6 separate regions of the Homo sapiens genome follow, and regions 1, 2, 3, 4 and 6 are each linked to region 5. The links are contacts of gene promoters, found by promoter capture Hi-C in blood cells and fetal thymus (Javierre and others, 2016). All regions are on one chromosome and are shown on one strand. The core of a region is centred on a gene start or on the middle of the fragment in contact, and the rest is flanking DNA. Distances in the headings are between cores, read along the strand shown.

The links. Contacts are between HindIII fragments. The CHiCAGO score rates a contact against its expected background, and 5 or more counts as called.
Region 1: a contact is called between a fragment that was not itself captured here and the fragment with the promoter of SGO1 in region 5, in 3 of 17 cell types (fetal thymus, non-activated CD4 T cells and total CD4 T cells). The highest score is 12.2, in fetal thymus.
Region 2: a contact is called between the fragment with the promoter of EOMES here and the fragment with the promoter of SGO1 in region 5, in 1 of 17 cell types (naive CD4 T cells). The highest score is 5.7, in naive CD4 T cells.
Region 3: a contact is called between a fragment that was not itself captured here and the fragment with the promoter of SGO1 in region 5, in 1 of 17 cell types (total CD4 T cells). The highest score is 6.5, in total CD4 T cells.
Region 4: a fragment that was not itself captured here is called in contact with the fragment with the promoter of SGO1 in region 5 in 2 of 17 cell types (fetal thymus and naive CD4 T cells); the score reaches 10.4 in fetal thymus.
Region 6: a contact is called between a fragment that was not itself captured here and the fragment with the promoter of SGO1 in region 5, in 4 of 17 cell types (non-activated CD4 T cells, naive CD4 T cells, activated CD4 T cells and 1 more). The highest score is 13.9, in non-activated CD4 T cells.

Annotation. Positions count from the first base shown.
Region 1 is chr3:27,482,771-27,486,579 of GRCh38, reverse strand. It overlaps SLC4A7 (solute carrier family 4 member 7), which reads left to right and starts at 2,196. Exons shown (of 26, transcript NM_001321103.2): 1 at 2,196-2,513. The coding sequence starts at 2,454. It also overlaps the pseudogene UBA52P4. RefSeq lists enhancers at 1,538-1,667, 2,146-2,922, 2,938-2,997, 3,028-3,237, 3,398-3,457 and silencers at 1,798-2,277, 2,308-2,667, 2,698-2,767. The HindIII fragment of the contact is 1,252 bases long and covers 625-1,876 here.
Region 2 is chr3:27,720,144-27,723,883 of GRCh38, reverse strand. It overlaps EOMES (eomesodermin), which reads left to right and starts at 1,561. Exons shown (of 6, transcript NM_001278182.2): 1 at 1,561-2,470; 2 at 3,559-3,713. The coding sequence starts at 1,590. RefSeq lists a silencer at 1,926-2,135. The HindIII fragment of the contact is 2,734 bases long and covers 580-3,313 here.
Region 3 is chr3:14,645,333-14,649,446 of GRCh38, reverse strand. LOC124909347 (a long non-coding RNA gene) reads left to right here. Exons shown (of 2, transcript XR_007095826.1): 2 at 1-4,114. Among named protein-coding and RNA genes, the nearest start is that of CCDC174, 4.4 kb to the left of the region's middle. The HindIII fragment of the contact is 254 bases long and covers 1,124-1,377 here.
Region 4 is chr3:14,945,235-14,949,008 of GRCh38, reverse strand. NR2C2 (nuclear receptor subfamily 2 group C member 2) reads right to left here and starts at 1,426. Exons shown (of 14, transcript NM_001291694.2): 1 at 1,103-1,426. FGD5-AS1 (FGD5 antisense RNA 1) reads left to right here and starts at 568. Exons shown (of 2, transcript NR_046251.1): 1 at 568-996; 2 at 2,855-3,774. RefSeq lists enhancers at 1-209, 564-763, 210-897, 1,586-2,275 and silencers at 364-423, 814-1,233, 1,254-1,323, 1,374-1,803. The HindIII fragment of the contact is 2,676 bases long and covers 524-3,199 here.
Region 5 is chr3:20,184,651-20,188,480 of GRCh38, reverse strand. It overlaps SGO1 (shugoshin 1), which reads left to right and starts at 2,275. Exons shown (of 8, transcript NM_001199251.3): 1 at 2,275-2,533. It overlaps SGO1-AS1 (SGO1 antisense RNA 1), which reads right to left. Exons shown (of 4, transcript NR_132785.1): 4 at 2,366-2,506. RefSeq lists enhancers at 1,798-1,857, 1,878-2,557. The HindIII fragment of the contact is 754 bases long and covers 1,998-2,751 here.
Region 6 is chr3:25,664,422-25,668,135 of GRCh38, reverse strand. It overlaps TOP2B (DNA topoisomerase II beta), which reads left to right and starts at 3,229. Exons shown (of 36, transcript NM_001330700.2): 1 at 3,229-3,714. MIR4442 (microRNA 4442) reads left to right here and starts at 3,197; the gene lies at 3,197-3,263. RefSeq lists an enhancer at 2,929-3,492 and a silencer at 3,660-3,714. The HindIII fragment of the contact is 239 bases long and covers 2,345-2,583 here.

The DNA of each region.
Region 1 (3,809 bases), core at 1-2,500, 7.3 Mb before region 5:
TGCAGCAGTTGACAGCACGGGGGTGCAGGCAAGCATAGCACTTGCGGCAGATCATCTTGTCACAGTTGTATTTCTGGGAGAGCTGGCAGAGGGAAGGCTCAATAATGCCACCTTACAGGCGCAGCACCAGGTGCAGGGTGGACTCTTTCCAGATGTTGCAGTCTGAGAGAGTTCGGCCATCCTCCAGCTGTTTGCCAGCAAGTATCAGATGCTGCTGGTCAGGTGGGATACCTCCTTGTCTTGAATTTTGGCTTTGACATTCTCAATGGTGTCACTTGGCTTGACGTCAAGAGTGATGGTCTTGCCCGTGAGGGTCTTCACAAAGATCTGCGTCTCTGCGTCTGCAGCTCAGTTGCCTTGCCGAAGAAAAAGATGACGGCAGATATTTTGCAGTATTGAGAGGATTAGAAATGAAATATGTTTGCCAAATGTCACAGTCTCTAATTGTAGGCCTCTTTACATAGTAGCTATTAATAGAGGCACATCTGCTCTTGTACAAGTAAGTGAACAATGTGTGCTGGACTGGAAGTAACTCTCTGGGAAATTTAGGACAAAAGGGGACTAGGGCCCAAAGAAGGAATGAGTCATCCAGCATACCTAGCTACCTATTGCTGACAAAAAGCTTTACTAATACCCAGTTGGAGATGAATAGGATGTGAGCTCTGGATCCGCTGATGTATTTATATATCCTTCCATTGCATGGCTTCAGTTCTTCCCAACTAAACCTCTCCTTATCTTTTTTTATTTTATTTTTTATTTTTTTGAGACAGGGTCTAGCTCTGTCACCCAGGCTGGAGTGCAGTGGCGTGATCTCAGCTCACTGCAACCTCTGCCTCCTGGGTTCAAGCGATTCTCCTGCCTCAGCCTCCTGAGTAGCTGGGATTACAGGTGCCTGCCACCATGCCTGGCTAATTTTTGTATTTTTAGTAGACACGGGGTTTCGTCATGTTGGTCAGGCTGGTCTCGAACTCCTGATCTCAGGTGATCCGCCCGCCTCGGCCTCCCAAACTGCTGTAATTACAGGCGTAAGCCACCGCGCCCGGCCAAATTTCTCATCTTTATGAAACACTCAAGAGAAACCTGTTAACAATAATGAAAATTATCAGCATGCTATGTGCCAGGCACTTTTATGAATATAAATCCCCTTAATCCTTCAATGAGCCTGCATGGCAGGTATTACAATCATCCCGTTACAGAAGGGATATTTGAGAGACGGCCTACAGGGTGGACTCAATAATGTGGCAGCTGGCCGGGTGTGGTGGCTCATGCCTGTAATCCCAGCACTTTGGGAGGCTGAGGCTGGTGGATCACCTTAGCTCAGGAGTTCGAGACCAGCCTAACCAACATGGTGAAACCCCGTCTCTACTAAAAATACAAAAAGTTGCCGGGCGTGGTGGCGCGCGTCTGTAGTCCCAGCTACTCAGGAGGCTGAGGCAGGAGAATAGCTTGAACCCAGGCAGCGGAGGTTGCAGTGAGCCGAGATCATGCCATTGCACTCCAACCTGGGCTGGTGCAAGACTCTGTCTCAAAAAAAAAAAAAAAAAAAAAAAAAGTGGCAGCTGTCGTGGTGCTCAGTGGGCGAGCAAGCACAGGAGGACACCTGGTCAAGTGTACCCCATCTTTCACGGTCCCTGAGTTGGGGTTCGTGCCTACTGGATTGACAGAAAAGAAACTTCCAGGAGTCGTGAAGACTCGTTAGTTGCTTCGGAGGGTTATCCTGGGCGTCCTTGACAGAGGTGGCGTCCTCCTTCCCTGCAGCCTCTAAAGAATGTAGTTAGGAGCCAAGGGAGGTGGTGACCCCCCACCCCATTGAGAACGTCAGGGGAGCTTCCGACTTGAAAAACTAGTTAGACGCTCAGCTTCGGTCAATTAAGCTTATACAAAGAGGGGCGGTGCGTCCTGAGGAGGTGGCACGGGGGAGGCGAGCGGAAGTCCGCCAGCCGCCGATTGGCTGGGACAAATGTCCGTCCCGCCTCCCTCCCGCCCCATCTCCCGGTGGCCTAGCGGCGCGGCCCGCGGGCGCGCTGAGGAGGCTGGCGGTGCCAGACTGGCAGGGGGCGTGACCCGAGGAGGCGGGGCGGGGGGGCGTGTCTTGCCTGGCCCCGGCGCCGGGCTCGTCACGGTTTGCGGCTCCGCCCCCGAACCCCTCCTCCTACGCGGCTCTCCTCCTTCCCGCTCGGTCCGCCGGTTCGCTCAGTTCTAGCTTCAGGTTCCACGCCGCGGCCTCGCTCTCCTACTAAAGCCAGCCCAGCAGTCGCAGCGCGCACACGCACGCCCCGCGTCTCCCGCGCCCGGCGCCCGGCTCTCCCCACGCGCGCACACCTCGCGCACGGACGCACCCACGTTTGTCCTCGCGCGCCGGGGGCTCGGCGGCGGCGGCAGGGGCAGCGGCAGAAGCAGGCAGACCGCGCGGGGCAGTACCGTAGCGGCCGTCACGGGCTGGCCGGCCGGCCATGGAGGCTGATGGGGCCGGCGAGCAGATGAGACCGCTACTCACCCGGGTAACGAGCAGGGTGAGGGCGCCGCGGCGGTGGGGCTCCTCCGCAGGGGGAGGGCGCGGGGCGAGGCAGACAAAGGCGGGGGGCGCGGCGGGCGTCGCGGCTCGGCCACCTCGTCCCAGGCCCGTCGCCCCTCCACCTCCCGGCGGCCGGCGCGCCTCGCCATCCCCTTTGTGTGGCGGCCTGGGGCGCGGGTGGGAGGGGGCCAGCGGCTGCGCTCGGGAGGCCCGAGTCGGGGCGGCCGGCGGCGCGCCGCGGGCATCCTCTGCGCGGCTCAGGCGGGACCCCGACATCCCCGCAGAGGCCGCCTGTGACCCCGACCATCCATCCCTTCCCTCAGCGCTCGCCTCCCCTGTTTCTTAGCGCGCTCCCCAGGCGGGGTCCCGGTTCCGGTTGCCTTGGCGCAGGAGTTTCAGATTAGCCCTCGAAAACCTATCTTTCTTCTCCTTCTAAGGAGGACGGCGGCTCCACCTGTCTCTAGCCCCAGGCAGTGGTGAAGAGCTGGTTGAATCTTTCCCCCTCTTTCCGAGTGTCCCCTCCCGCTCCGCGGTGCGCTTTGTTCGGTGAGTTCTCCGGCCGCGTGGACTGGCCGCGCTCCTTCCCGGCCAAGGCTCTTTCGCTGTTGCCTGCCGGGTCCGCCTTCTCCACTGGCTGGGACCCGGGGAGTATCCTCCTGCCGCAGGCCAAGTAGAAGGAGGAGGGTGTCCTGAGCTGTCTGGTGCTCCTTCTCTAACTCAGCTAGCAAGATCGCGTTTCCTACTGAGACTGGCTTTGATTTCAGGGTTAGAAGAGAATGGGGATGGACTTAAGGCCGGTGTTCCCATTTGTGATGATGGGTGAACGGCCCATGCTCAAGAAGCGGACTTCCTGCTTTCTTTAGAGCACATGCGTCCCCGCAGTTGTCTCTTTCTCCTTTCCAAGTTCGTGACTCAAAGGAGATGGAAGTATTCTAAATTTTCCTACTTCTAATTTTTACTATGCAACCAGCAAAGGCGGGAAGGTTGCAGGGAAAATTGTCCGGTCTTTCACAACTAAGAGGAAAATTACTTCTCCTATGTTTTTATTCAAGAGTTGTCTTTAAAACTGCCTGCCGGCTTTCCCTTTTAACTTTTAGGATTATAGTTAAGGTTATGGAAAGTAGTCATTCATTAGTTCAGTACGTTCATATAAGTTCTCTAACATAGAAGAAAACTCAGTCACCAGACAGTGAAGTCATTTAGCAGTGGTTATTGGAAGATAATTCACAGTGATGGTAATGGAATACTGGAAACTCATCCTAAATAATCTGTAATTATTATTATTATTATTTTG
Region 2 (3,740 bases), core at 312-2,811, 7.5 Mb before region 5:
ACATCTCAGCCGGAAAATGCGCTCCCGGAGCGATTACTGGCGGCGTCTGTAATTGCTTATTAACAGCGAATATTCAGGCTTCTCCTTATCCGCAACGAAACGTGCCCCCCGCTTCCGTAATAATGAAACGATAAAATATGACGGCCCCGCTCTTGAATCTATCTGAGGAAACGCAGCGAAGAAACAAGCAGCTGGAGTTTAATTCAATATCAAACTGATTATTTCACTAATTATTCTACCTTCTGTATTTGCCGCAGAGCAGAGGCGCAGGGAATCCTAACTGTGGGGCTGTTAGGGAAGCTTTGTTTCTTGGTGTCAGGCCTAACTGAAGATGGTGGTGAAGGGACGGAATCCGGGATCAGGAAAACTGAGCAGAAAGGATTTTAAATTGTGGGGAATAAAAGTGACTGTCTCCCCGAAAGCAGTTGTGTTGGCGTGAGTATGAAGTTGGTGTTAGCTCGCTTAGTTTCACTCTTGTCCTGTCCCCAGTACCCTGTCCAAGCTTCTGATTTAGAAGCTGAGAGCTTAGGTCCTCCAGGATGGCAATGTGCTCTGGCCGTCCCCGGAATCCCAAAAGCTTAGCGCGAGTTTCCTCTCTACAAACCTTTCCCACTGGGTAAAAGGATGGGAACAAACAAAAAGTGGTTCTGTGCGTTGAAGGCCAGGGAGTTTGCCTTCGACAAGAGGAAGGTGTGCTTTGAAGTTACAGCTTCCGACGAGGAAAGAGACTTCCTTGGGCCTGTCTCCAACTTGCCCCAGTTTCCCCAGCCTCCGGGACGGGCGCTTCCCTGCAAGCTATCAGCTTGAAGAGTCTTTCTCTCTCTGGCCTCTAAAATCTGCTCCAGCCATCTCATTCCTCCAGCGGAGGGCTGAGATGACTAATGCGCCAAGGGTGGACACCGCTATGGAGACCCCAAACTTTGTCCCCCTAAATTCCGGCGAAATTACAGACACCAGGATTGATTATCACAGCGGGACGCAGTCTCAAAAAAAAAAAAAAAAAAAAAAAAAAAAAAAGGAAAAGAAAGTCACAGGCGACTTGATCCAATTAGTAAATGCCTAATTGAATTAGTGTCACCTCCACCAGCCAATAGGAGGGTCTCCGGGCTGTGAGGCCGGGAAGCCCCTCCCTGGCCGCAAATATATAAAGCAGCTAGTGACAGCCCATAAGTTTCCAAGTGGTCAACTTGACCGATGCTTTGGCAATTGAAAAAGGGCAGAAAGGCGCGGGCTAGTGGGTGGATGGGGACAAAGATCTAAGTCACCTTCTTCCAGCGTGTGAGCCTGGGAGGAGGGTGGGGGTCCTGAGGAGCAAGAGGTACGAGGAAGGAAAAGGAGAGGGCTTCTGGGTTAGTTTCCACCTCCTGCTTTCCAACTCACGGCGCTTTCCTTCCGGAAAGGACGCTGGATTCAGGGCGCGCCAGTACGCGCAGTAGCGGCCCGCGAGTCGGCAGGTGGGTAGCCCCGGCGCGGGAGGAAGGGGAAGTTACCTTCCCCTCGGAAGAGGGCGCTGGCTCCCCCATCCTGCCTTTATAATAAGGCCACCGGAGGAGAGGAAGCAGCCAGCTGCCGTCTGCGCTTTGCAAAGCATGCAGTTAGGGGAGCAGCTCTTGGTGAGCTCAGTGAACCTGCCTGGCGCGCACTTCTACCCGCTGGAGAGTGCGCGAGGCGGCAGCGGCGGGAGCGCTGGCCACCTCCCCAGCGCGGCCCCCTCTCCTCAGAAGTTGGACTTAGACAAAGCGTCCAAGAAGTTTTCCGGCAGTCTCTCCTGCGAGGCGGTGAGCGGGGAGCCCGCAGCCGCCAGCGCAGGGGCCCCCGCGGCCATGCTTAGTGACACCGACGCCGGGGACGCATTTGCCAGCGCTGCGGCAGTGGCCAAGCCGGGGCCCCCGGACGGCCGCAAGGGCTCCCCCTGCGGGGAGGAGGAGCTGCCCTCCGCCGCTGCAGCCGCCGCCGCCGCCGCCGCCGCGGCTGCGGCCACTGCGCGCTACTCCATGGACAGCCTGAGCTCCGAGCGGTACTACCTCCAGTCCCCCGGTCCTCAGGGGTCGGAGCTGGCTGCGCCCTGCTCACTCTTCCCGTACCAGGCGGCGGCTGGGGCGCCCCACGGACCTGTGTACCCGGCTCCTAACGGGGCGCGCTACCCCTACGGCTCCATGCTGCCCCCCGGCGGCTTCCCCGCGGCTGTGTGCCCACCCGGGAGGGCGCAGTTCGGCCCAGGAGCCGGTGCGGGCAGTGGCGCGGGCGGTAGCAGCGGCGGGGGCGGCGGCCCGGGCACCTATCAGTACAGCCAGGGGGCTCCGCTCTACGGGCCGTACCCTGGAGCCGCAGCGGCGGGATCTTGCGGAGGACTGGGGGGCCTGGGGGTTCCAGGTTCTGGCTTCCGTGCCCACGTCTACCTGTGCAACCGGCCTCTGTGGCTCAAATTCCACCGCCACCAAACTGAGATGATCATTACGAAACAGGGCAGGTGAGCGCAGCGTGGAGGGGCCCCTGGGTTCGGGGATAAAGGGTGACGTGTGGTCCTGGGGAAGGTCCGGGATGAGGGAGCTGAACCCAGTTGTTCCGCGCGGTGCTTAGAGTGTTTCACCGCGCGCAATAAATCTCCGTAGACACCGCATCTCCAATGCGGTGTCCCTCTGTGTCAGTGCCCCGGCGGCTCTTGCAGGGTGCCAATGTTACGGCTGTACACCGCTTTTCCCTCCCATCATCCTCACCTGAACAGACCTGGAGGAGGCGGAAATGGAAATTAGGGCATGTCCACAAGCTGGATTCGTTAGATCCTCCTGCTCGGCGGTATGCTTGTGCATGCCTGCATGCCGGCAAGGAGCCACGGATAGGGAAGGCTCAAGAGCTGGCCACCTGAGCGCAGTAGATGGGCTCCCGCAGTTTTAGGCGCCAGGGTCTCCACGGGGCGTCTCCGGGAGGTGGGCATGAAGGCTAGAGCGCCGGCCTCGGAAGCTCGGTCGGAGTAGGTGGTTAGATCTGCCCTGGAGCCAGACCTGGCTCGGGTTCGGTGCGCGAGAAAGTTCTGATATACATCCAACTGCTAACACTGGCTACTTCTGGGGAAAGGGAGGGGTGGGTGCTGAGAGAGGGGCACTCAAAGGGGACTTTTAGCCTAAAGTTTTAATATATATTTTTAACAAGAATAACCTAATATTGTTCTCTGGTACTTTTCAAAATGGTGCATTTAAAAATTAGTAGTTTTTAACATTCTAGGAGAAAAATTTTAAGAGCGTCTGAAAGGGCCGAGAATATGAGCCTTCGGAAGCACGCGCGAATTTGGAATATACCGATGTTGGGGCAAGCTTTTTTTTTTTTTTTTTTTTTTTTTTTTTTTTTTTTTTTTGAAAAGACGGAAAGGTTCCAAGAGTTGCCAACTCAAAAATATTTTACATAGTTTCAGACCACTTGATCTACCAGCATTCTGTTCACTGCAAACTTTTAAATGTGTTCCGACCCTATCCCAGGTGTCTGGGGAACCCGCTGGGGCCTGGGCCTGTTCTAGGACATCCCAATTAAAATCGATTTTTCTGATTCTATTCCCTTGCACAGGCGCATGTTTCCTTTCTTGAGCTTCAACATAAACGGACTCAATCCCACTGCCCACTACAATGTGTTCGTAGAGGTGGTGCTGGCGGACCCCAACCACTGGCGCTTCCAGGGGGGCAAATGGGTGACCTGTGGCAAAGCCGACAATAACATGCAGGGTGAGCAGAGAAGAGGCTCGGGCCGGG
Region 3 (4,114 bases), core at 1-2,500, 5.5 Mb after region 5:
GTCCCTGAAGACCATGAGAATTTAGCTTCCTCTGCACGATGCCTGTCAGGGTCCTTGGTTGTCATCTCCATCTTAGCGATGCAGGTTTGCACCCTCACCCTTGTCAGAAATTCTCCCTAGAGTGGCATCCAGCTGATTGTAACCACCTCCCAAGCCACTTAAATGACCAGGAGCAAGCTAGTGAGTCCCCTTTATTCCCAGGCTCACTCATTTTGCAGGCTGCAAAAGCACAAAATAACTTAATCTTGCATTGACCAGAATGCTCCCCTGTCATACAAATGATTTTTCACATATCCCCCCATTTCCTCAAACTCTCTCCTCTTTGTTTATGTGTTCCAAGCATCTGGGTCTATCTGGAATTGCCTTCCTCTACCAAGTACAAAAGTTGAAGCCCAGCCCAGTATGTTCTTTACTCAGTCACCCTCTAAATACATGGACCTGGGTTTGTTCTGGAAGAAAGGGAGGGCAGGGACATCCTAGTCTGGTGAAAAGAGCACAGGATTTCCTCCGAGGCCGCTAGCACTCCGTTCCAGCTACGTTCCTTTAGTTAGTTTGGCAGCTCCCATCTCCCCTCTGAGCCTCGGTTCTTTTACCCAGTTGGGCACACAGGATGTTTGAGATAAAGAGTGTAAGAATGGTTTGCAAACTGAAAATGCTGTGCCTGCATCACTTGCAGGATAGTTCTGCTCAGTGCCAGTTTTCTCACAGCAGAAGGCGTGTGCGTACCAACAGTCTGTGTTATGACACTGCATATTTTGCAGTGTTTTGACCTCCGGTTTGTCCTTACCCCTGTTGAGTCCCAAGAGAGTGGGACTGGGTGGGAGATTGATTATCTTCTTCCTTCTTATATCTTACTAGATTTTAATTATCTATGAAGTCTTTTAGGTGCTTTAAATAAAGGGGGAGAGAGGAAATCTTCTGAAGCAGATGACAATTATTTCCCCCAAGCACAGCCACCAAGCCATGCTCTTATTTTGAATGATCTGCGTCATTTTCCAACATGAAGCCTCAGAAGGACATGATTACAGGCTGGACTCACCGACTGTAGCCTGTGCAGCTATTGTAATGTTTTAATCAGTGATTAAGTCAAGAGGTTTAATTTAGTACCGGGCTCCGTTAAGCTTGTGAAAATGGTTTTCTGCCTCCTCAAACTAAAAATGTGTCTCTCCCCCATGTGTCCAGCCCGAAGCATCTTAACCTTTGTTCTATCTTCAACACCGCTGGCTCTAACAAATTACTCAGCAGTGAATGAATTAGCTGAGTCCAATGTGTGAAAAAAGATTAGGCTGGACCTAGGAAAATTAGCTTCTAAGCACAGCACAGGATGAGGCATAAAGATACCTGGACTCGTGCCCTGCATGACAAAGAAGCTAAGCTTCATTAGCGTCAGTCATGACATCCGTCATTGGCATTATCTCATTGAATCCCTGCGACAACCTCAGGGGCAGATGCTATTATTATTCGCATTTTGTAGATGAAGAAAACTGAGACCCAGAGAAGGTAAATAACTTGTCCATGGTCACACAGGCAGTCTTGGTCCCAGGATTTGAGTTGAGGCAGCCTAGCTCTGGGATCCCCACACTGTCCTTCCTCCCTCGCTGGATCTGAGACTACGTTAGCTTTGCATTCATTCATTGATTAACTCTGTTGGGGAAAGGGGACATTTTAGGGAGCTACCCCAGAATAGTTCTGCAGGAGGGACCTGTCTTTAGGTCATTGCAAGCAGAGATGACTAAGGAGGTGAGTGCCAGGAGTCCTGACCATGCAAGCTAGAACTGGACAAGCATCATTTGGTATCACGGAGAGCCCAGCCGAGCTTGCAAATCTGGAGTAACAGGATGGCCTATGGGGCTTTTTCTGCAGCCTGGGGAATTGGTGCCTGAGGCCATGGCTAAAAAAAAAAATGAGAGTTGCTAAAAACTACAGCCTCAAACTCTTAATGGGGGCCCAAGTGCTGCCCCCCAGCTTCAACCCAATGGCTTACTATGAACAGGAGAAGATGCTTTATAGTGCTCAAATCCACCCGACCCCACTGGATTTAGAGAGGCAGCAGGGAAGTGGTAGAGGGAGCTGTCCACATTATGAGATGTTGGCCTCATAGAGAGGGACGGGAGGGACATTTCTCTAAACTCCTAAAGCCAAGTGAGGGGCTCCAAAGATGAGGAACAGAGTTCAAATCAGAGATCTGGCAATGTCATGGTGGGGAGTCTTGAAGGTGACCCAGCTGAACCCAAGAAGTAGGAAAAAGCAGAGAAAAGCCACAGCAAGAAGTAGGGAAAAGCAGAGAAATGCCACAGTAAGAAGTAGAGAAAGCAGAGAAACATCACAACTAGAAGCAGCCCAGGTCCCCGACCCTTCTTGTTGGCCCTGCGTTAGTTTCCTAGGGCCACCATAACAAAATGTCACAGACTAGATGGCTTGAAACAATAGAAATTTATTGTCTCACAGTTCCAGAGACTGGAAGCCCTAAATCAAGGCATCGCAAGGCCAGGTTCCCTCTGAAACCTGTAGGGGGAATCCTTCCTTTCCTCCTCCCAGCCCCTGATAGTGAGTGGCAGTCCTTGGCTTTCCTTGGCTTCTAGATGTGTCCCTCCAGCCCTGTCTTCACGTGGCCTTCTCCCTGTGCCTGTCTTCACATGGCCGTCTTCTTACAAGGACACCGGTTATATGAGGTTAGGGGCCCACTGTACTCCAATGTGACCTCATCTTAACTGATTGCATCTGTAACAACCCTATTTCCAAATAAGGCCACATTCTGAGGTACTGAGGGATAGGACTTCAACAGATCTTCTTTTAGGGCGGGGTGCAGTTCAACCCAGAACAGGCCCTCCGTGTCAGTCTTGAAAAAGGCCAGCAGAGACCCTCAGTACTAATGGGAGAGGAGACCTGAGACCCGTCCCAGAGAGCCGGGGTTTATAAACTGGCTGAGAAAGGGACTGCCAGAGGGGTCATGAAGGAATGACAGTGGTGGGGGGCCAGAGGGGCTGCCTGAAGTGGAGATGGGACAGAACAGAACTGCTCTGTGTGCACGCCCTGTCCAGGCCTAGCTGCTGGGGAGCTGGCTGCCCTTTCCTGCCAGTGAGGCCAGTCAGTGGGGTGCAGCAACCCTCACCCCCCACAGCAGGAAGGAGGAAACAAACTTTGGTTGGAACCACGGCGGGGCGCAGGCAGGAACTAAAGAGTGAAAAGGAGAGCACTCACATTTGGGGAGGCACACAGAGAAGACCTTCTTGTCTTGCAGGGCTCTGGGGAGCAGAGCTATCTGGGTGGAGTATGGCCAGATGTCAGCAGCACCCAGGCCAGCAGGCTCACATGGCTGAAGGAGTCAGGATAGGATGGAGGCCAGAGAACATGGAAGTGGGGCGCCCACATCTCCTGGTGCTTCACAGGCCACTTATAGGGACTTGGCGTTTACTCTGTGTGAAGTGGGAGCCGTGGAGGACACTGAGCAGAAGAGGTCTGTGGCCCAACTTAGGGCTTCATGGGATCCCTGTGGCTGCCAGATTCAGAAGAGACCATTTTAGCCAGAACAGTTCCCTATCTGCATACTTCCCATGGACACACAGCAAGGGAGGCGACCATGTACCTCTGTTTTAAGGACAGGTGTATGCCTAAGAGACCAGACAGAACATGCTTTATGTCCACTAGCTGTGAGCCTTCAGATAGCAGCCACTGTGTGCCAGGGACTCTGGTAAGTATGTTATGTATTTTTTTCTTTGAATAAACTTTACAAAAATTTCAAACACCTTTATACATACAGAAAAGTTGCAAAGATAGTGCAGAGTTCCCACGCACCCCACACCGTTTCCTGTGTTGCTAACGTCTTACTTTTCTTCATCGTCCATTCATCACAACTAAGAAACCAATCTTGATACATGCTGTTCATTAAACTCCACCCTTTACTGGATGTCACCAGTTTTCCCCAATGTTGTTCTCCAGACCAAGGTCCCATACGGGACACCACATTGAATTTAACTGTCACATCTCCTTAGTCTCCTCTGGTCAGTAACAAATTCTCAGACTTCCCTTGTTTCTGATGACCTCAATCGTTTTAAACAATATAGATCAGGTATCTTATAGAATATGGCTCAGTGTGGATGTATGTGATATTTTT
Region 4 (3,774 bases), core at 612-3,111, 5.2 Mb after region 5:
GTAATCCCATTTTTAACAATAACACCATTTTCAAGTGACTCTGAAGCTCGCAAAGTAGCGTTGCCTCCATTTTCTGAGTAGAGCCCCACAAACAATGCTCAGAAGGGAGGTCCGGCCTGGCAAGAATGCGCATGCCCCCCATTTACAGTCGATAAAATTGAGCCTCATTAGGGGATTCGCCAAGGCCGCTGCGAAATAACGAGCAGGAGCCCTGAAAAGTGTCCTGGTTCCGAAAACCTCTTCCCACGAGAGCGCATCGTGGACTCGAAATGCTTCATCACCTTTATTACTATTGTTCCTCAGTACTCATTCGAGACGCGTTCCAGGCGGAGGGAAGCAGCCCACCTGCTGACCCAAGACCAGGCGCCGGCCTCTCCACCCGGCCGCGCCCCTCGCGCCCCGCCCCCGGCCCCGCCCCCGCCGACCCGGCCCCACTCTTCGCCCCGGCCTCTACTCCCGCCCCGCCAGGGCTCCCGCGCCCCATAAGGACCACCCTCTTCCGCCTCAGCCAATCAGCAAAGCTTAGGGGGGCGGTGCCACAGGCCCCGGCCCTCCTATCTGGGCGCCAATTAGCCAGCCCATCCGTCGCTCACGAGGTCGCGCCTCGCACCCGCCTTCCTCCTTTTCTTTTACCCTCCCCTTCAGAAAAAACGGCGGTTGGGCTGCGACGGCCGCCAAAGGCGGACTAGAAGCGGAGGGGTGAAAATCCCGGCAGAGAAGGAAGAAGGGACTGCAGGCGGGAGGAGGAGGAGGATAAGGAGGAAGGGAGCCCGCCCAGCCGGAGCCATCTCCGTCGAGAACAAAATGGCGGCGCTGGCGGAGGGCCAACTATAAGGCGGGGCCGCGGCCATTCCCCCTCCACCCCCACCCTTGCGCCGGCCGGGCCGGTCAGGGGGAACCCGCTCGCTTCGCCCGGCCGCGGGCGGGGAGGGGAGGGGAGCGGCCCGGCCCACTATGCAAAGCGCCGGGCGCCGCCGCCGCCACCCCGTGGCAAAGGTAAAAGGGTCGGGTTCAGCCGCCGCCGCGGCGCCTCCATGTCCGCGCGCCAGGCCCGCCCCCTCCGCCGCCGGCCCGAGCCCGCCCGACCCTCTTTCAATTTTACCTCAGGATTTGGCGCCAAAGCGGCCTCGAAGCGGGTCCCGTGTCTGCGGCGGGCGGCCCCCGGCGCGGAGGGCAGGGCGCGGGGAGCCCGGGCTCCCGGTGTCGGCGGATGGCGGGAGCCCGGGGGCCGCGGGCTCGCGGGGCAGCGGGCGAGAGACGAGACGCCGAGGTGGGAGCGGGGTGGCGGGGACGGGCCCGGGGGCGCCGCCGGGGTCGCGGAGAAGGGGGGGTTTGTTATTGTTTTTGTCAGTGAAAGGTCAGAGTTCGTGACCCCGGTGCCGCCGCCGCCGCCGCCCGCGCGCTGGTAGGAGGAGGGCGAATGTTCTTCTTCCTCTTCCCAGCGCCAGCCTCGCCGCCGCGGCGGGGGGCGGGCGAGAACGCGATTGGCTGAGGCGCGCGCGCGCACCGGAACGCCGCAGCCGGCGCTCGGTCCATCCGGCCCGTGGGCTGTGGGGCCCCGGGCGGCGGCGGCTACGTAGCTGCCGCCGGCCTTGGCCGCGGCCGGGCGGGCGGATATGTGGCTTAAATGGCGCAGGCGTCGGGGCCTAGAGGCTGAAGGGCTGGTCGTCCTAAAAACTCGTGGACGTCGCGCACGGTTACCCGGACGCAGGCCCGCCCCTCTGGGGAACCGCGAGCTCCTCGCAGCTGGGTGGGGACCGTCCTCGCAGTGGCGGCCTCCACCCTGCCTTCTCGCTTAGCCAAGGCTTCTGGAAGGCTCGCAAAGTGTCTGTTGTTGGAAGAAGCCGGGCCCTGACTGGCGCGACGGATTCTCCCAGCCGCTCAGCAGAGCGTCTGTAGGTCGGAAGTGGGGGTTGTATTGGGTGGGTATTGAGCTCTTCGGCCCTTCCTCGGTACTGATAGTTTTTAATTTAGGTTTTAAAGGTCTAAAGATGCGCCCGTTCTGGCCATCTCAGGTGAAATGTTGAAACGCCCCAGAACCTATAATTTTTGGTTTCTTAGTAAACATACGATCCAGATCTTGTGTAATTCCATGCCCCTCCTCCTCGAAATTTGGAAGTAGTACATGGTAATAGGGATGTGTAAAGCAGCTTTTAGCAGCATTGCTTAAATTTATTTGAAGAAATTGGCCTGTCTTGCTCTTAAACTCTTGGGCTGTAGGTTTTCCTTACATATTTCTCTGTTTTATGTCGTGGTTTTGACTTGCCTGGGAAGGTGCAGGCGCTTATTTATCCTAAATGCCCTGAAGTGTTTAGGCTACAGGCTGTAGATCTTATACTGATTTTTTTTCTTCAGTTTTCTTGCTTATTAAGAATAAATATTGACTCCAGAATGGATGGGTTAACTTTTTTTCCCACACAGTATCCATTTGGGTTTTTATCAGGATGACTCCAACATTTAGTATTTTTTTTTCCATAATCTTATAATATTTCTATTTGGTAAAAAATGTTTTAAACACAGCTATTTCCCCTTCCTCCTTTTTCTGACGTTGCAAAATTGGGAAAAGAGCTAGGTTCGTTTTGTCATGGTAAAGCACAGCTCTTGAAATTGGAAGAGGCCTTAAGGGAATGTGGTCAAATTTTTTTCTTGCAGAAAGATTTTCCGATTTTAGGGGTGAAGTGGGTGAGAACTAGAAAGGTCAAGTGATGTACCTGAGAGGCAAAAGCAATTGCGTTTTTGCATTTTTGAAATTTGCTGTTTGATATTGGAATACATTCTTAAATAAATGTGGATCATTTTAATGCACATTTCTCACTTTATTTTTTTGCTAATGACTTATTGCTGTTTATTTTAGAATATGCTTTTTGTCTAATGATGTTAGATAAAAAGCAAATTTGGAGCAGTTTTCTTATTCGAGTTCAAAATGGTTCATAAAGCAGCGAAGACAACTCAAAACATCAGTAACACATTTGGCCCAGGAACTGCTAACAAACATACAGTGCAGTGGTGGCTTAAGAAGTTTTGCAAGGAAGAGAGCCTTGAAGATGAGGAACGTGATATGGGCCATGGGAAGTTGACAACGACCAATTGAGAGCAATCATTGAACTACATGAAAAATTACAGAAGAACTCAGCGTTGACTATTCTACGGTCATTAGGGTCGTTCAGCATTCGAAGCAAATTGGAAAGGTGAAAAAGCTTGATAAGTGGGTGCCTCATGAGCTGAGCGGAAATCAAAACTATCGTTTTGAAGTGTAGTCTTCTTTTATGCTACGCAACAACAAACCATTTCTCAATCGGATTGTGACATGTAATGAAAAGTGAATTTTATACAACAACCAGCTCAGTGGTTGGACCAAGAGGCAGCTCCAAAGCAGTTCCCAAAGCCAAACTTGCACCAAAAAAAAGGTCATGGTCACTGTTCGGTGGTCTGCTGCCCATCTGATCCACTACAGTTTTCTGAATCCTGGTGAAACCATTACATCTGAGAAGTATGCTCAGCAAATTGGTAAGATGCACCGAAAACTGCAATACCTGCTGCCTGCATTGGTCAACAGAAAGGGCCCAATTCTTCTCCACGACAACACCTGACTGCGTGTCGCACAACCAGTGCTTCAAAAGTTGAAGGAATTGGGCTACAAAGTTTTGCCTCATCCACCATATTCACCTGACCTTTCGCCAACTGACTACCACTTCTGCTAGCATCTTGACAACTTTTTGCAGGGAAAACACTTCAGCATGGTGCAGAAAATGCTTTCCAAGAGTTCGTCAAATC
Region 5 (3,830 bases), core at 1,026-3,525:
AAAAGGAATTGTGGAATGTCTTATCTTTCCTTTTCCTTTCATGCCATCACTTTTAGTGTAAGTGGTTAGAAAATATAGTAACGTGGTTGGGCATGATGGCTTAGCCTGTAATCCCAGTTTGGAAGGCTGAGGCAGACAGATCACTTGAGCTCAGGAGTTTGAGACCAGCCTAGGCAACATGGCAAAACTCTGTCTCTACAAAAAAATACAAAAATTAGGGGGCGTAGTGGTGGGTCCCTGTAATCCCAGCTACCTGGGAGGCTGAGGCAGGAGAACTGCTTGAACCTGGGAGGCAGAGGTTGCAGTGAGCTAAGATGATGTCACTGCACTCCAACCTGGGAGACACAGCAAAACTCCGTCTCAAAGAAAATAATAATAATTTCAAGAGGGCAAGGGTGAGCCCTTCTGAGCACTTTGTACTTAGGTCCCTAACTACAAAATAAGTGGTTCATGGAGGCCATTTAGTGCGCATCCTGAACATTGTATGACATGGGGCAAGAAACAGTGACAGACACACACATTGCATGAATCACATCTGCTCACAAGATTGCTCCATTGTCTCATCAGACATCACTTACAAAACATAAGTTCAAATATAAACTCCTAAGCATTTCAAGACGGCAACAGCAGAGCATTAAACCAAATGTACAGCCCTTCTAAGCACCGGTTGCCTGCTCATGAAGCTGGCCCTATTCTCTGCTCTCATGTTCCACTTCATAATTTTCTGACCTCAAACAACAAAAAACCTCTCTGCCCATTCCTTCTTGATGCTTCTACACATATAAGCCACATTGCCCAGTGGCAGTAAACTGAGGGTTAATGGAGTTGGTCTGGTTAACTTGGAAAACGAGGGAGTTGTTGGCTGGAGAAGGGTGTTTCAGCCTCTTCCACTCAAGCCAGGATGGGTACCCAGACTAGAGCAAGCATGTGTTAGCTACCTTTAAAAAACAACAACACACCTTCATAAAGAATGCCTAGATTCAAAACATTTGTTTCGTTTTCATTTATTTGTTCCTTTATTGTCCCAGTGAATATTTACTACTTACTTCAAATTGCAACGAGATGCTGACAATTTAGCTATGAACAAAGCAGATGTAGTTCCTGCCCTTATTCAACTTCAAGAAACAGGCAATGAACGACAAGTCAGTGTCACAAGGAATACCAAGGGGAAAATGCAGGGCACTAAGAAAGTGTAAAGCAGACACTCAGGGGCTTTAGGGGTAGATAAGTCTTTCTGGAAGAATTCATCTGTACAGTGAAACTTCAGTATACATAGGAGTAAGTTCGGCCAAGGGAAAGAGTGTTCTTGACAGAACAGCATTGGCAAAAGTGGCAAGAATTTTAAGAAAATTAAAGAAAATGTACAAGTGATGGAACCAGGAATCATGGGGCTCTTTAAGGACAAAATATCTTAAAGGAGTTTGAAATTCACCTTAAATGCAATAGGGAGCCATTGTAAAGTTTCCTATTTGATACTTGTTTTGTAAAAATATTAATCTATGAAGAATATAGGGAGTGGAGTCTGCGGTCAGAGTGGGTACTAGTGCAATTTAGGGAATGAGATTAGGCTGGAAGCTGGATTGGGGGGAAAAAGATGGGCATGAGAGAAACTTGGAAAGCAGAGTTGAGAAGATCGTGTGACCGACTGGACGGGCAAAGGTTAAGAGAGGATAAATAATCATTAAGGACGATTTCTCAGGCTTCTAGTCGGTAACTGGATGGATGTTGGTGCCATTTCTCGAGAAGAGTTAAAGAGCCAGAGATAGCCGGCAAAGAGAAACATGGAGCTAGAATTTTCAGGTATCTGCAGTTTCCCTAATACCTTTTTAATCCAGAATTTGCTCCTTGTTTTGGTTTTAATTCCTCTAAAAGCTGCTTCCGTGTTGCAAGCTGGCTGACCGCTTTAACAGGCAACCAAAGAGATTCTTCTCACAAGAGGGAGGCTTTGAGCACAACCCGGGACATTTGAAGCTGTCAGACTGAAGAAACAGGAAGCTTTGAACTACCTATCACACTCGGCCTTAAAGGTTTCGGAGTAACTCCACCCGTAAAATCCCCACGACTCTGATTAGAAAGTCCCGGCGGGTCGCCGAGACCCGACCGCAGGCTCCGCCCCAGGGCCAGGTGGATGCCCGGATGTGGACTTGAGCGAATGTGCGTCACGTGACGTCGCCTGGCGGGGCGGGACTCTGCCTGCGACGGTGGTGTTGGGTGCATCCTGCGCCACGTGACCGCCTCCCAGCCAACCAATGGAGGAGCGAGGCGGAAAATTTCGAATGTGGCGGCGGTAGTTCCAGGCGACGGCGGACGGTGGTACGGTCCTGGAGGGCCCAGTGCGCGGGGCTAGCCGTGGCTGGAGAGCTTCGAAGAGCCTTGAAATGTGAGGAGGAGGAAGATAGCTGTTGCAGAAGTAGTGGCCAAGGTATCGTTCTGGACGCGCCTGCGGCAGGAGGGTCGCCGCGTCCACTTCCGCCAGCCCCACCTCCCCCCGGCCTTCCTGGAGTCCCTGAAAGAGGAAGAAGTAGGTTTTAAGGTGCGAAACAAGGGCGTAGTGATCCCTGTTTGACTTCCCTTCGGTTTTCAGTATCATTCTAAATTCGGTGGCCGAAAGCTCGGGCCGTGGAGTCCCACTCGCCGCGCTTTTCGCCGTTCAGCCACTCGATCTGCGCTTTCAGATGTTCCGGCTTCCATGGAGACCCTAATTTCCTACTTTGCAAAATTGTGTAGATTAAGTGATGTGCAAATAAAGCTTTTACAATAGCTAAAAGCCTGGCTCAACGTAAGGACACAAGAAAATTGACAGCAGTTCTTTGTGCAGCGTGATACCGTTGACGTCCTCCTTGTCCAGGCCATTCTCTTCCTCACTTACCCTGGAGAGGCCGGCACTGACTAGTATCCTACCTGGCTGTCTTCGCAGCAGGACTAATTGGAGAATTATGGACGGAGATCAAATATGCTAGGTTCTTTAAATCCAGAGCGCTTACACGAGTACTGTACAGATTGAGACCGTCATCTCGCGCTGTGGTCTGTCTTTGCTTTCATCCCTTCTGTCTACCACACCCCCTGCTAATAACCATCGCCTTATTTAGACAGGATATAAAACTTTTGATATGGCAAGTTTCTTTTGTGATTTTTAACTTGATTAAAAGTAATAACGAAAGCTTTTTAGGTAAGGCTTTGCCTTTAAAATACCTTAACTAAACTAGATCCGTTACTTAATCTGTATGACTCTCAAACATCTCCAATTCTAACTTAATTGTGTAAAACAACCCCTTTACCGTTCGTGCTTTTAAAAATAGCTACCCTATCTCTGCTAGGAACCTCCCAGTACATATTGTATATACCTTGGTAGAAAGAAAGTTCTTAAGTGGTATCTACAATACCTATATTTAAGATTCCAGACACTGCATAGAGGAAAATAAGGCCTGGAGGAAATACTCAAGATTAAGTGTAAGGTTTAGGAAAATATTTGACTATCGTAGAGGAGATGAAGATATCCTTTGTAGTGAAAATTCTGTGCATAGATTGTTATTGGAAACAAGTCTTTTTTTTTTGCAATTTTAAGATCTGCAAAGTGCAATCTAGCGTAAAAGATGTTTGTGAAAAGTGGTTTGACATGTTTAGTAGCATGCTAAAGCCTACCTGATTTGCAACGTTGAAAGATTAAGTATAGTTATGTATTTAATACTCAACGTTTAACTGTATGTACAACAATATTTAATGTCTGATTTGTTATGTTCATAATTTACTGGGAGTTAACAGCCCTAACTTTTAGCCACAGTTTGAGAATACTAGAGTGTTCCTCTGCCCAAGTTCCTGCTCTAGCTCTG
Region 6 (3,714 bases), core at 1,215-3,714, 5.5 Mb before region 5:
CTCCGCCTTCCGGGTTCAAGCGATTCTCCTGCCTCAGCCTCCCGAGTAGCTGGGATTACAGGCACATGCCCAGCTAATTTTTGTATTTTTAGTAGAGATGCGGTTTTGCCATCTTGGCAAGGCTAGTCTTGAACTCCTGACCTCAGGTGATCTGCCTGCCTTGGTCTCCCAAAGCGAGGTAAATTGTTTATTAAACAGCAAATGAATAAATATAAAATTGCTTTTCAATTAAATGATTAGCTTGAAACTATAATTCAAGGGTGAACTTAAGGCAGAAAATGCGTCTTCATCACCTTTTTAAATTCCCAGGTCCTGAGTACCTAACACAGTAGGCATTTAATTTTTTTTTCATTGCTACAATAAGGAAATATAAGATCTAAAAATAGAAATTCTGAAGTAGTTAGGATAAGCTCCTATGGAAGCTACTCAGAAATCTTGATTAAATAAAGACCTTTATACAGTTTATAGAAATGACTAATTTCTAGTTTTTCCTTTTGGTCAGTGCTTGCTGTGGGGTAGAAATTAAGTCATTATATGTAATATATACATACAAAGTAGTATCTAAAACTAGACAAACCTGATATAGAAGCTTTTTTTTTTTTTTTTTTGAGATGGAGTCTCGCTCTGTCGCTAAGGCTAGAGTGCAGTGGTGCGATCTCGGCTCACTGCAACCTCTGCCTCCCAGGTTCAAGTGATTCTCCTATGTCTGCCTCCCCAGTAGCTGGAATTATAGGCACAGGTCACCACGCCTGGCTAATTTTTGTATTTTTAGTAGAGAAGGGGTTTCATGATGTTCGTCAGGCTGGTCTTGAACTCCTGACCTCAGGTGATCCACCCCTAATTGAAAATTACTTCACATTACCCCAGAAGAGAAAGCTATGCTCAAGTTGCGTACAATCAATTTTATCATAAAGATATGCTAAGTCTGCTGCACAGTTAAAAAGGACAATTCTTTAGAAGCTGAGATACTTTTAATCTAGATTCCGTCTTCCACTCATCACAAATCTCTGCTTTAAAAATGTTGATTTTCATGTATATTCAGCAATTCTTATTTGCAATTCTTCTGGGTAAGTCAGTATTTTCTTAAAACTAGTAACACTTATTAAAAGGCTTTTTCATACTGAGAAGACAAAAGGACTCAATGCCTCACATATGAGGCAAGTGAAAAGAACATTATTTTTATTAATCTATTTGAGTTTTGAATATATTGTTTTATTCATTTCAAAATCTGAACCTAGGCTGGGTGCGGTGGCTCATGCCTGTAATCCCAGCATTTTGGGAGGCCAAGATGGGCGGCTCACTTGAGGTCAGGAGTTCGAGACCAGGGTGGCCAACATGGTGAAAACCCCGTCTCTAGTAAAAGTAAAAAAAATTAGCCAGGCATGGTGGCCGGTGCCTGTAATCCCAGCTACCTGGGAGGCTGAGGCAGGAGAATTGCTTGAACCTGGGAGGTGGAGGGTGCAGTGAGCCGAGATCATGCCACTGTACTCCAGCCTGGGTGACAGAGCAAGACTCTGTCTCTAAAAACAACAACAAAAACGGAAGATAAAGAGCTTTGACAACTTAAGTTTAAAAAAGGAGACAGCTATGTATTTTATAGCTTAGCTTCTACCTAGTACATCTTCATAAAAAAAACTCATTGCCTTTAAAATTACCCCTTTTCAAACAAAATACATGTGTACTTGGAGATGCAAACTCACAGTAAGAACACAAGATCATTTTAACAAGCACTAAACTGAGGCTCAGGGAAGTTAAATAACAAGGCTATGGATACTTGGTCAGGTTCAGAAAAGTTTGCACCCCAAGTTCAAGGTAAAGAAAGGCTTCACTGTTCTGAAGTCCCTAGTATGGCAAAGTTACATGGCCATCAGAGAGCTAATTAAAAAAACTATGTTTAAATTATTTCCATGTTTCAGAGTTCTCCACCTCTAGACTCAGAATGCAGTTTAAAGATGTGACCTGAGACATTTTTGTTTTCCCTTGAGAGGAAATGCACAGTTGGAAGTTCACAAAAACACCTCTTCAAAAAACAGTAATACTGTTTTCATCTTTATAAAAAGCTTTCATCACAACTCTTTGGTGGCACTTCATGCCTTCAAGTACTCATTTTGGTGATCGTTGGCTCCCTTTTAGTCTGTCTCACAAGCCAGGTTATAAATGGTTTGAAATCAGGGGCCTTGTTTTTACTTTGAACCCATCGCAGAGCCTGGCACAGCGTGGCAGAGTGTGCGCCCAATAAATACTTGAGTGGAATTACACTGAAAAACAGGAAGAAGTAAAGCCATCTTCCATCTGCCAAAGACTGTGATGTTGCTGTATTGGTAATTTTCATTCTTAGAAAGCTTTAATGTGAATGAAATTATTCCTTACTGTGCATTTGAAAATTCCACTGAAAACAGTTTTAAAAATTAAGCATGCCCTCTTAGAGGCAGGGGGCACAGTTCTGGACAGATGAGAAAAGTGACAGTGACATCTCTGCATTGTTCAGAGAAGAAAGGTCAACAAAGAGTAGAAATAGAACACTCAACCCACCCTGCATTCTTTCCCTAGAACATTCTCTGTGTGTCCCTTATCATTTAAGCTTTTCATATGTAGTTTTCTTGAAACTGACCATATGCTCTTTTGGGGTGAGGGGAGGAGACGGAAGAAGGAGATGGAGAAGGTCTGAGATGATTTTTTTCGACAGCAGCGTCCACTTAGGCCCTTGGGGAGGCCGGGTCACGGGGCCTCCTTGCACCAGTGGTCTACAACGTCTTGCCTGCGGTTTACAACCGCTCTTTTAAAATAATTTCCCTTTGGGACGGCCCCCGGCTTCTTCCTGCCACCCCCATCCCCACCCCGCCCCCATCCTCATCCTTAGAGGCCCCAGGCAAACGCTTCGGATTCCCGGTTAGGTCTCAGAGTAAACAGCACGCTTGGAGGATTACAATCGACCCGAGGCCAATTCGACCCTTTCCCTTTGCCGCCCTCAATTGACCCTTGAAGCAGCCCCTGCTCTCCCTTCAAATGGAAAACCCACAGACACACACACAAACAAAAACCCCAAGTCTTCCTTTCGGTTGCTACCCGCAATGACGTTTCCCCCCTCGGGTCCCGCCCCTCCAGGGGGCTTGGAATTTTGGGATTGGCCGAGAGGCTGTGGCGACAAGGCCCGGATTGGACAGCATGGCGCTGACTGACAGCGGGGGCGGCCGCCGCGCCCTCCCTCTCTCCCCGGTGTGCAAATGTGTGTGTGCGGTGTTATGCCGGACAAGAGGGAGGTGACCGTGGCGGCGGCGGCGGCGGCTCTGTTTATTGTCCCTCTCGGTGTGTGTGTGTGAGGAAATCGGGGCTGCAGCGAGGCTAAGGCTGCCTTTGAAGCAGCGGCGGCGACCGGGACGACTACTCTGGCGACTCGAGTGGCTGGCCTTCGCGGAGTGTGAGAAGGACAAGGCACCTCTGCGTCCTCGCCACGTCCGAGCGCCTCGGGCTCCCCGGCCGCCCTCGCGGCTCGCACGCCCGGGCTTCAGCCCGGCCTGCAGCGGCGCCCGCGGGCGGGCGAGAAGGCAACGCCGCCGCTCGGCCGCCGCCGGTCGCTCCCTGCTTTCTCCTCAGCCGCCGCGCTAGGCCCGGGCGACGCGGACGCCGCGCCTCGAGTTTGAGGGCAGCCGGCGGCGCGGCCTCCTCAGCGGGCTCGGCTGGACGTCCGCTCCGGATCTTCGCGATGGGGCGCGG